Regions from separate parts of the Homo sapiens genome. Here regions 2 and 3 are each linked to region 1. Evidence: promoter capture Hi-C in 16 types of primary human blood cells and fetal thymus (Javierre and others, 2016). All regions are on one chromosome and are shown on one strand. The core of a region is centred on a gene start or on the middle of the fragment in contact, and the rest is flanking DNA. Distances in the headings are between cores, read along the strand shown.

Region 1 (2,980 bases), core at 160-2,659:
TGAAGATTTGACATTTTATAATTATTCTTCCACAATACCAGTTACCCTATTACAGGGCCAAAGGTGAACTGTCGAAGAAATTACATGTTTAGTAATTTGATTTATTAAATCATACTGAGAAGTTAGCATGTGGATTCTTTTAAGCTTTAAAACTATCCAAATTCTAACCAGGACTTATATTTCATATTTGTAAATAATTTTAGAAGCTTCAGTGAATTAAGTTATATTATTTGATTATCAAAACAATCCAGAATAAACTTGTCTTAAAAAAAACTTAATGTTTAAAAAACACATTTTAAAATTAAAATGTGGAAAATCTGACTTTACTGTGAAATGTTGAGCCTTTGCTCATTGCCTTCCTGTAATGCACTTCCCTTAAGATGTTTAAAGTTAGGTGAGAAAAGAAGCAATGCTACTTTTGTCTTTGTAATATACAGGGAAATTGGCAGCCATTTTTTTTCAGGGCACTATAAATAATCATTGTCAAGTTCTATTTATCTTCTGTAACTGAAGATATTCACTGAAAAAAAATTACCGTTCCTGTCAGACTGACTTTTATTCAAGCACTGTCACATTGTCAGCTAAAGGGAAGGGGAGAGCAGACGTCGAGGTCACGTTCGAAGCGAACAGCGGGGAGCTGAGGAAACTGACGTCCACAGCTCCAGCCTGGCTTAGCGTTAACACCTGCAGTAGACCAAGCCTTTCTCCCACAGAGGAGTCAACAAATCCATCAGAGATCTGTAATAGGAGGGCCAAGACTAAACACTCTTGCCTTGACTCCAAATAGACAACTCCATTTAAAATAAAAAACAATAGGAACCAGATTCAGAATCGCTTCACGCCTTGCCCAAGGCCCTCTTCCAGAACCAGGGTTCCGACCTCCCCACTTTCCTGGCTTTGGGGTCTGCCTCTCGGGGATCTCGAGCAAGGGGAACAAAATATTGGAGGGGGAAGAGGAGCAGCAGCCCGGCCCATGGAACCGAAAAAGAATCCAGAAAAAAAAAAAAACACTCCCAAACGGACGAGACACTACCAGACCCGCCCTGAAGAGCCAATACATTTCCACCACTCGGCTGCGAAAGCAACAAACGCCTCCCGTCCGGGCGTCCCTGAAAACAAGGACGCGCTCACCTCGAAGGGTAAACCCAGCCGCCCCCCAACGCCGCCTTCCCGTCAGGGGACGAGGCCTTAGAAACTCGGTAACTGCAGTCGCGTCTCCAGGGCCTGCAGATGACGTCAGCAGCCCCGCGCTAGCATCGCGAGACTCCCGTCTCCCTCCCCCGGCTCCCCACGCTCCCAACCGCCCGCGCCTGCTGCCAGGCAGCGGCGGGGATGGCGAGCAGCGGAGGCGAGGCGGTGACGAGAGCAGCGGCTCCGCCATTGGACGAGGAGGCCTGAGGGACGGGCCAGCGGTGCACAAGAAGAGACCGAGGCGGGTGGCCCCGAGAGAGCCAGGGCCATGGAGGCCAACATGCCGAAGCGGAAGGAGCCCGGCAGGTCTCTCCGCATCAAAGTCATCTCCATGGGCAACGCCGAAGTGGGGAAAGTGAGTACAGCGAGCCGGGAGGGGCGGGCCCCAGCGTGGCGGGGCGACGTGTCCATTGGCTGGAAGGGCGGCCACTCAACAGCCTGGGGCCCGGCCTCCTCTCCGCCCCCGAGCAGGCCCGGGTCTCAGCCGAGGGGTGCGGCTCCGCGAACGAAACTCCCCGACCTTTTTGACCTTTCCGTTGCCCCCTCGTCCTCCGACGTCACTCTTCCGGAGATGGTGTCTGGGGTGGCCTCTAAGCCTTGAATGTACCCCCAAAAGAGTAAGAAGGCCTGGGTCCCCATGAGGGGCCGTCGGCCTAGATACCTTGCCCGCGTTCTAGGGGGCCGTCCGGGACCGGGAGATGGAGGATGAAAGTTTAGTTCCCCCAGCCGGGCCTGGGAGCCGGCGGAACGTTATGGGGTGCGTGTGAGAATTTGGGGTTCGCGAAATGGTGCCCGGCAGCCCAGATTCTGCATTCCCGTCACGAGAGAGCGTAACTGACGTTGACGTGTTTCACAGGGGAGGTGCAAGGGATGGCCGGGGTCCGCGCTGTTTTGTTTTGCGTTGTGTTTTATTTTTGGTGGTGTCCCCATATCTGTTAGTTCCACCGCCCTTCTCTCTGCCCCATCTGTGGTTCATCAGCTATAAACTCTCCTTTAGTACGTGGGGAGGGAAGGCCAGAGGTAACCTGAGGCCTTTTCCCTTATGAATTCCAAGACGGCCTCCTCTTCACTCAAATTCTTTCCTTTTGGGCAAGTGGAATCTGTTGGTTAAGAACTTCCCAAGGTCATCAAATCAGTGACCGAGGAAAGATTAGAACCTAAGTCTTCACATTCCCACTGCGGTGCTCTTTCCGTCGTTGTATGCGTTCAAAATCAACTCCGAAAGAGCTGTTAAGGCAGTGCCTAGTCCAGTGCCTGGCACCCAGGAGATGCTCAGTAAATGTTTACTTAGTGTTTTTTATTTCTGTGTAGCATGATCCCGTACTACTTTTGTGTGTATGTGCTAGCATAGTATTCACTGAAAGTCAACATTTTTTTGAACGTCAGCTGTGTACGAGGTGTTTTTTTTTTTCTAGGGACTGGGCACGCTAGCTCAGGCCTGTAATACATCAGCACTTTGGGAGGACGAGGCGGGCGGATCACTTGAGGTCAGGAGTTCAAGACCAGCATAGTGAAATCCTGTCTCTACTAAAAATGCAAAATTAGCCAGGCATGGTGGTGCACGCCTTTAATCCCAGCTACTTGGGAGGCCGAGGCGGGAGAATCGCTTAAGCCGGGGAGGCAGAGGCTGCAGTGAGCCGAGATCACGCCATTGCACTCCAGCCTGGGCGGCAGAGTGAGACGCCGTCTCAAAAAAAAAAAAAAAAAAAAAAGTAATTTTACTGTGCCTAATGATACAACATTAGAAGCAGCTCAGAATGCCCAGTGTCACCACATCTACTTAACATTT
Region 2 (2,980 bases), core at 191-2,690, 920 kb after region 1:
TGTATTTTTAGTAGAGACGGGGTTTCAACATGTTGGTCAGGCTGGTCTCGAACTCCTGACCTTGTGATCCGCCCGCCTCAGCCTCCCAAAGTGCTGGGATTACAGGCGTGAGCCACTGCATTTTAAGAAGAGTCTTCAGGCTATGATATAGAAAGGGAGTGAATATGAGATTGGGGACGAGATTGAAAGCAGGGAGGAGAGACTGAAGATGGGGAGATTAGCTCAGGGGCTGCTGAGGGATGAAAAGGCCTCAGGGAGATGCTTTCTGGGACCCAGCAGCAATGTTTCCTGCGTGGGCAAAGAAGCCTGTACTCCAGGGGATATCTGAAGTAGTGGCTGGGATTGGACAAGGAAGATGGCCTGGAGCCAAGAAGTTATCCAATTTCCTGGGGAGGGGAGCTGTTCATATTAATAATATCTGATATGAAGTTTGCCCATCAAACCCTGCAGACAATGGGGGCTTTGGTATTAATTAAATTTCAAGAAATAAAGAAATGGCTATTCCTTGCACACCCAGACCCAGTAATACAAGGACTTGGGAAAGTGAGACACGGAAGGGGGATAAAGAGGATCACTTAGGAGAGAAGGTGGGAAGCGAGAGTTCTGTTTTGGACTTGCTGACCAGGGAGCACCCTGGGACGTCCAGGGAGAGGTTCGGCCGTAGGTCGCAGGGCTGGGCTTAGAAGCTTCAATGTGGAGGCCATGGGAGTGGACAGGGTGGCCAGGGAGTCTGAAAGCGGCGGCAGGATAAAGCGAGATCCGGAAGCGGGCAAGGGAGCGCTTCCCCCTTCCCCAGCCTGGGTCTGTCCCCACAGCCGCTCACAGCCCGGCCCGCAGGGAAGCGACCGAGGGGAGGCCCGGCGGGGGACGCGCTAGGAGGAGGTCCCCGAGCAGCGGGTATCCGAGAGCAGGTCCTGCTTTCCAGAGCTCGCCGAGTAGGGCAGGGAAAGCGAAGCCGAAACCCAGGCTGGGGTATCAGCAGCAGCGGATAACCGAACGACTGCAGCCGCGACAGGAGAAGCCCGGGGCGGTGGCGGGCCGCAGACCCCCGCCTCCGGGCCGCAGACCCCCGCCTCCGAGCTGCCGCCTACATTCCCCTAGGTGAGCGCGGAAGAGGATGGCGGAGGATGGTCTCCTAGACCCCCAAGAATCCCGTCCGGCGTCTCCGCCTGCCTTCCCCATCCAGCCCCCCGACCCTTCAGCACCCTCCACGCCACCTCCGAATCAGACCCCCGCCCTCCGGGCTCCGCCCCGGGACCCCTCCCCTCCCCTGGCTCCGGAGGGAGCCCGGTACCGTCTCCGGGGGAGATGGTCTCGATCTCCACGCCCATAGCGGTCCCACAGGCCCCGCCTCTGGGGGGTCCCTGCTGCTGCCCGACCCCGGCTCGGCTCCGGCCCCAGCCCCGCCGTCGCTCCGGCTCGCCTCCTCGCCGCCACTGCAGAGCCGGAGGAGGTGCGGCTGGAGTCGGGACCTGCGCGGGGAGGGGCCACTGGCAAGGGGGCGGCGGGGCGGAGCCGCGCGGAAAGGTGGGGTCGGCCGGGGCGGGGCCCGGGGGAAGGGACCCCGCCCGGCTGTTAGCGAGCCTGGCCCCGCCTGACGACATTAACCCACTGACCAGGGAGCGTGGTAAGCACAACCACATCCTCCATCCATCCATTCATTCGCGCATCCGTCCAATAGACATTTATTTAGCATCTAATCTGTAGTAAGCTCTGGGAAGTCAACCCAGTCCTACAGACTTGTGGGGGGTGGGGGGCAGAAGGGGCAAAGGCCGGCGATTAAACCATCATTTTATTTTTATTTTTATTTTAGACAGAGGATCTTGCTCTGTCGCCCAGGCTGGAGTCCAGTGGCGCGATCATAGCTCACAGCAACCTCGAACTCTTAGGCTCAAGCGATCCTTCTTCCTCAGCCTCCACCCAAGTAGCTGGGACTAGAGGCGCGAGCAACCACGCCCAGCTAATCTTTTATTTTTTATTTTTATTTTTTGTAGAAACGGGGTCTCGCTGTGTTGCTATCTAATGAAACCATCACTTTAATTAGATGCGCTCAGTGCCGTGCAGTTCAGAGCGTTGCGGAAGCACAGAAGAGGTTCCTACCCTCGCTAGGCGTCCTGGATCTGTAGGAGCAGAGCTGGGGGAGGGAGGGAGGACACCAGTAATTGCTGACTCTCCCCCATACCCCTAAACCCCTGTTCTCCATCTCGTGTAGTTCTGCTCGACGCACATTTATTGGGTACTCAATTTTCAAGGCAAAGAAATGCGCCCTGGGGATACCAATAGAATTAAGACAGGTTGGCTGTCTTCCAGGTACTAAGTCTGAGAGGGACGGGGACACACAGTTACTGCATGGAGTGATTAGTGCTGTGGAATGAATGAATGAATATGTAAATGAATTCTACTTTGAGTTCCTCCTCCACCAAAAAATACATTCAGGAATCTAGAAAAATATTTTTTGGAGGAGGTAATATTTGTTTAAAGGGTAATTGGGACTTTTAAAATTTTTTCCCCCTCATTATTACCTGCATTGTTCCAAAAATTGATGTGAGGCCAAGTATATCAATTTTTGGAACAATGGCTCACACCTGTAATCTCAACACTGTAGGAGACCGAGGCAGGAGGATTGCTTGAGCCTAGAAGTTCAAGACCAGCCTGGGTAACATAGCGAGATCCCGTCTCTCTCTCTCTCCTTTTTTTTTTTTTTTTTTTTGAGACAGAATCTTCACTCTGTCGCCAGGATGGAGTGCAGTGGCACAATCTCGGCTCACTGCAACCTCCGCCTCCCAGGTTCAAGCGATTCTCGTGCCTCAGTCTCCCAAGTAGCTGGGATTACAGGCGTGAGACACCAGCGTTCGGCTAATTTTTAAATTTTTAGTAGAGACAGGGTTTCACCATGTTGGCCAGGCTGGTCTCGAACTCCCGACCTCAGGTTATCCGCCCGCCTCAGCCTCCCAAAGTGCTGGGATTACAGGCATGCCAT
Region 3 (2,980 bases), core at 276-2,775, 570 kb after region 1:
GCCCATGAGGTCGAGGCAGCATGTGAGCCATGATCACACCACTGCACTCTAGCCTGGGCTACAGAGTGAGACCCGTCTCAAAAACAAAAAATTAATTAAATTAAAATAAAAGGTATAACTGAATCATCTGGGGAACATTTAAAAATTACACACATCTGGCTGGGCATGGTGGCTCATGCCTGTAATCCTAGCACTTTGGGAGGCTGAGGTGGGAGGATCACCTGAGGTCAGGAGTCCGAGACCAGCCTGACCAACATGGTAAAACCCCATCACTATTAAAAATACAAAAACTGGCCAGGCACAGTGGCCTGTAACCCCAACACTTTGGGAGGCCGAGGCGGGTGGATCACGAGGTCAGGAGTTTGAGACCAGCCTGACCAACATGCTGAAACCCCGTCTCTACTAAAAACAAAAAAAATTAGCTGGGCATGGTGGTGTGCGCCTGTAATCCCAGCTGCTCAGAAGGCTGAGGCAGGAGAATCTCCTGAACCCGGGAGGCGGAGGATGTAGTGAGCAGAGATCAAGCCACTGCACTCCAGCCTGGGCGACAGAGCAAGACTCTGTCTCAAAAACAAACAAAACAAAACAAAAATTACACACATCTAAGTTCCAATCCAAGAATTCTGATTCAGTGCATCAAGTGTGGGGTGCCTTTGGCCAAACACTATGTTTTCAGGGTATACATTTCTCCTAATCCCTTCTTCCATCAATTCTGCTTTGTTAACAGGGAAAAAGTCGGTCATGGCTATTGGTTAGGCTGCCAAGATCTGTTCAATATTATACGGTTAAATTTGGATTTTTAAACTAATGAGGAAAAAATACTTGTGTTATTAAAGAGTGACCAGAGGAACTTTCTTCTCAAGTAGGAAAAAAAAATCCACTAACTATAAAGAAAATGATAAATTAAGCCACATTAAAATTAATAACTTTGGCTTGGCCCGGTGGCTCACGCCTGTAATCTCAGCCCTTTGGGAGGCCTAGGCAGGCAGATCACGAGGTTAGGAAATGGACACCATCCTGGCTAACACGGTGAGACCCCGTCTCTACTAAAAATACAAAATAAAATTAGCCAGGCATGGTGGCACTTGCCTGTAATCCCAGCTACTTGGGAGGCTGAGGTAGGAAAATTGCTTGAACCCGGGAGGTGGAGGTTGCAGTGAGCCAAGATCGCATCACTGCACTCCAGCCTGGGCGACAGAGCAAGACTCCATCTCAAAAAAAAATTAATTAATTAAATTAATAACTTCTGTCCATCACAAAACACCATGAAGAAGGTAGAAAGGTAAGCCATGGAATGGAAAATTATAGTTATATCAAATATTCTTGAGAAAGAACTTTAAAGAACTCTTACAAATTAATTTTAATTATTTGTATTTATTTATTTATTTTTGAGACAGGGTCTCACTCTATCGCCCAGGCTGGAGTGCAGTGGCTTGGTCTCAGCTCACTAACCTCCGCCTCCTGGGTTCAAGCAATTCTCCCACCTCAGCCTCCCAAGTAGCTGGAATCACAGGCATATGCCACCACACAGGCTGGGCGCGGTGGCTCACACCTGTAATCCTACCACTTTGGGAGGCCAAGGCAGGCAGATCATTTGAGGTCAGGAGTTTGAGACCAGCCTGGCCAAAATGGCGAAACCCCATCTCTGCTAAAAATACAAAAATTAGGCCCGGCGTGGTGACTCACATCTCTAATCCCAGCATTTTGGGAGGCCAAGGGGGGTGGATCACAAGGTCAGTTCAAGACCAGCCTGGCCAAGATGGTGAAACCCCGTCTCTAGTAAAAATACAAAAAATTAGCTGGCCATGGTGGCGGGGGCCTGTAATCCCAGCTACTCAGGAGGCTGAAGCAGAGAATTGCTTGAACCCAGGAGGCGGAGGTTGCAGTGAGCCGAGATTGCACCACTGCACTCCAGCCTGGGCGACAGACCGAGACTCTATCTCAAAAACAAACAAACGACAATTAGCCAGGTGTGGTGTCATGCACCTGTAGTCCCAGCTACTCGGGAGGCTGAGGCAGGAGAATCGCTTGAACCCAGGAGGTGGAGATTACAGTGAGCTGAGATGGTACCACTGCACTCCAGCCTGGGTGACAGAGCAAGACTCTGTCTCAAGAAAAAGAAAAAATTATGATTCTGCTGGGTATGGTGACATGTACCTATAGTACCAGCTATTCAGGAGGCTGAACAGGAGAATCACTTGAATCCAGGAGTTTGAGTCCAGCCTGGGCAACATAGTGAGACTCTGTCTCTAAACAAATAAATAAATAATTCCCTTGCCATCAACATTTTTAAACAAGAGATGTCTTCCCTGTGTGAATATTAAACTTTTAAATTAGTATGAATGTTAGATATTATAAACTATGTTTTACGTAAGTGGGGGAAGTTTAAAAAGCGGCTACTGTTAAGAGAGGGCATTGTTAATGCATTAACCAGGAATAGACTACGTTATGTTACAATAACAATCCCCCAATTGTATTGCTTTAACCTATTTATTTTCCACTCACACAAAGTTGGCTGCAGGTACTGTGGTCCTTCCAGACAGCTCCCTTCCAAGCATGAGTCACATCCAGGCCAGTTCGTTCCCTCTTCTGGTTATGCCATCTCCACATTTGGCCTCGGCTGTCATTGCGGCAAGAAAAGAGAGAGGAATCAAGAATGATAAAGTGCTCTTCTCTTTGTGCTTTGTCCCAGAAGTGACACATGTCATTTCCACTCACGGCTCATTTGTCAAAACGAGTCGCATAGGCCCTCCTAACTGCAAGGGAGCTGGGGAGTCTTGGGAGCACATGGATATTCAATGACTAATAAATTACAATAAATTATATCCCTCCAGCTGTAATTGAACTTACAATGAACTCCTCGAAGTTTTTCAACTAAAAGTTATTTCCAAAACAATATAAAACCATGGTGTGATCGCCAGTATTTGAAGAAGCAGACCCTCTGCTCTCTCCCCGCTACAGCAGTTAATTTTTTAAGAAG

Evidence for each region. Contacts are between HindIII fragments. The CHiCAGO score rates a contact against its expected background, and 5 or more counts as called.
Region 2: a contact is called between the fragment with the promoter of FKBP1B here and the fragment with the promoter of DNAJC27 in region 1, in 4 of 17 cell types (neutrophils, fetal thymus, total CD4 T cells and 1 more). The highest score is 8.0, in neutrophils.
Region 3: a contact is called between a fragment that was not itself captured here and the fragment with the promoter of DNAJC27 in region 1, in 7 of 17 cell types (endothelial precursors, megakaryocytes, M1 macrophages and 4 more). The highest score is 12.1, in endothelial precursors.

Annotation. Positions count from the first base shown.
Region 1 is chr2:24,970,384-24,973,363 of GRCh38, reverse strand. DNAJC27 (DnaJ heat shock protein family (Hsp40) member C27) reads left to right here and starts at 1,409. Exons shown (of 7, transcript NM_016544.3): 1 at 1,409-1,546. The coding sequence starts at 1,460. It overlaps DNAJC27-AS1 (DNAJC27 antisense RNA 1), which reads right to left and starts at 1,252. Exons shown (of 3, transcript NR_034113.1): 1 at 1,132-1,252. RefSeq lists enhancers at 360-877, 1,089-1,168, 878-1,396, 1,379-1,488, 1,749-1,858 and 2 more and a silencer at 1,619-1,698. The HindIII fragment of the contact is 9,578 bases long and covers 209-2,980 here.
Region 2 is chr2:24,048,201-24,051,180 of GRCh38, reverse strand. It overlaps FKBP1B (FKBP prolyl isomerase 1B), which reads right to left and starts at 1,440. Exons shown (of 4, transcript NM_004116.5): 1 at 1,295-1,440. The coding sequence starts at 1,331. RefSeq lists a silencer at 1,279-1,578. The HindIII fragment of the contact is 22,874 bases long and covers 689-2,980 here.
Region 3 is chr2:24,404,402-24,407,381 of GRCh38, reverse strand. LOC105374329 (a long non-coding RNA gene) reads right to left here. Exons shown (of 3, transcript XR_001739340.3): 2 at 2,506-2,620. Among named protein-coding and RNA genes, the nearest start is that of ITSN2, 45 kb to the right of the region's middle. The HindIII fragment of the contact is 6,674 bases long and covers 1-2,980 here.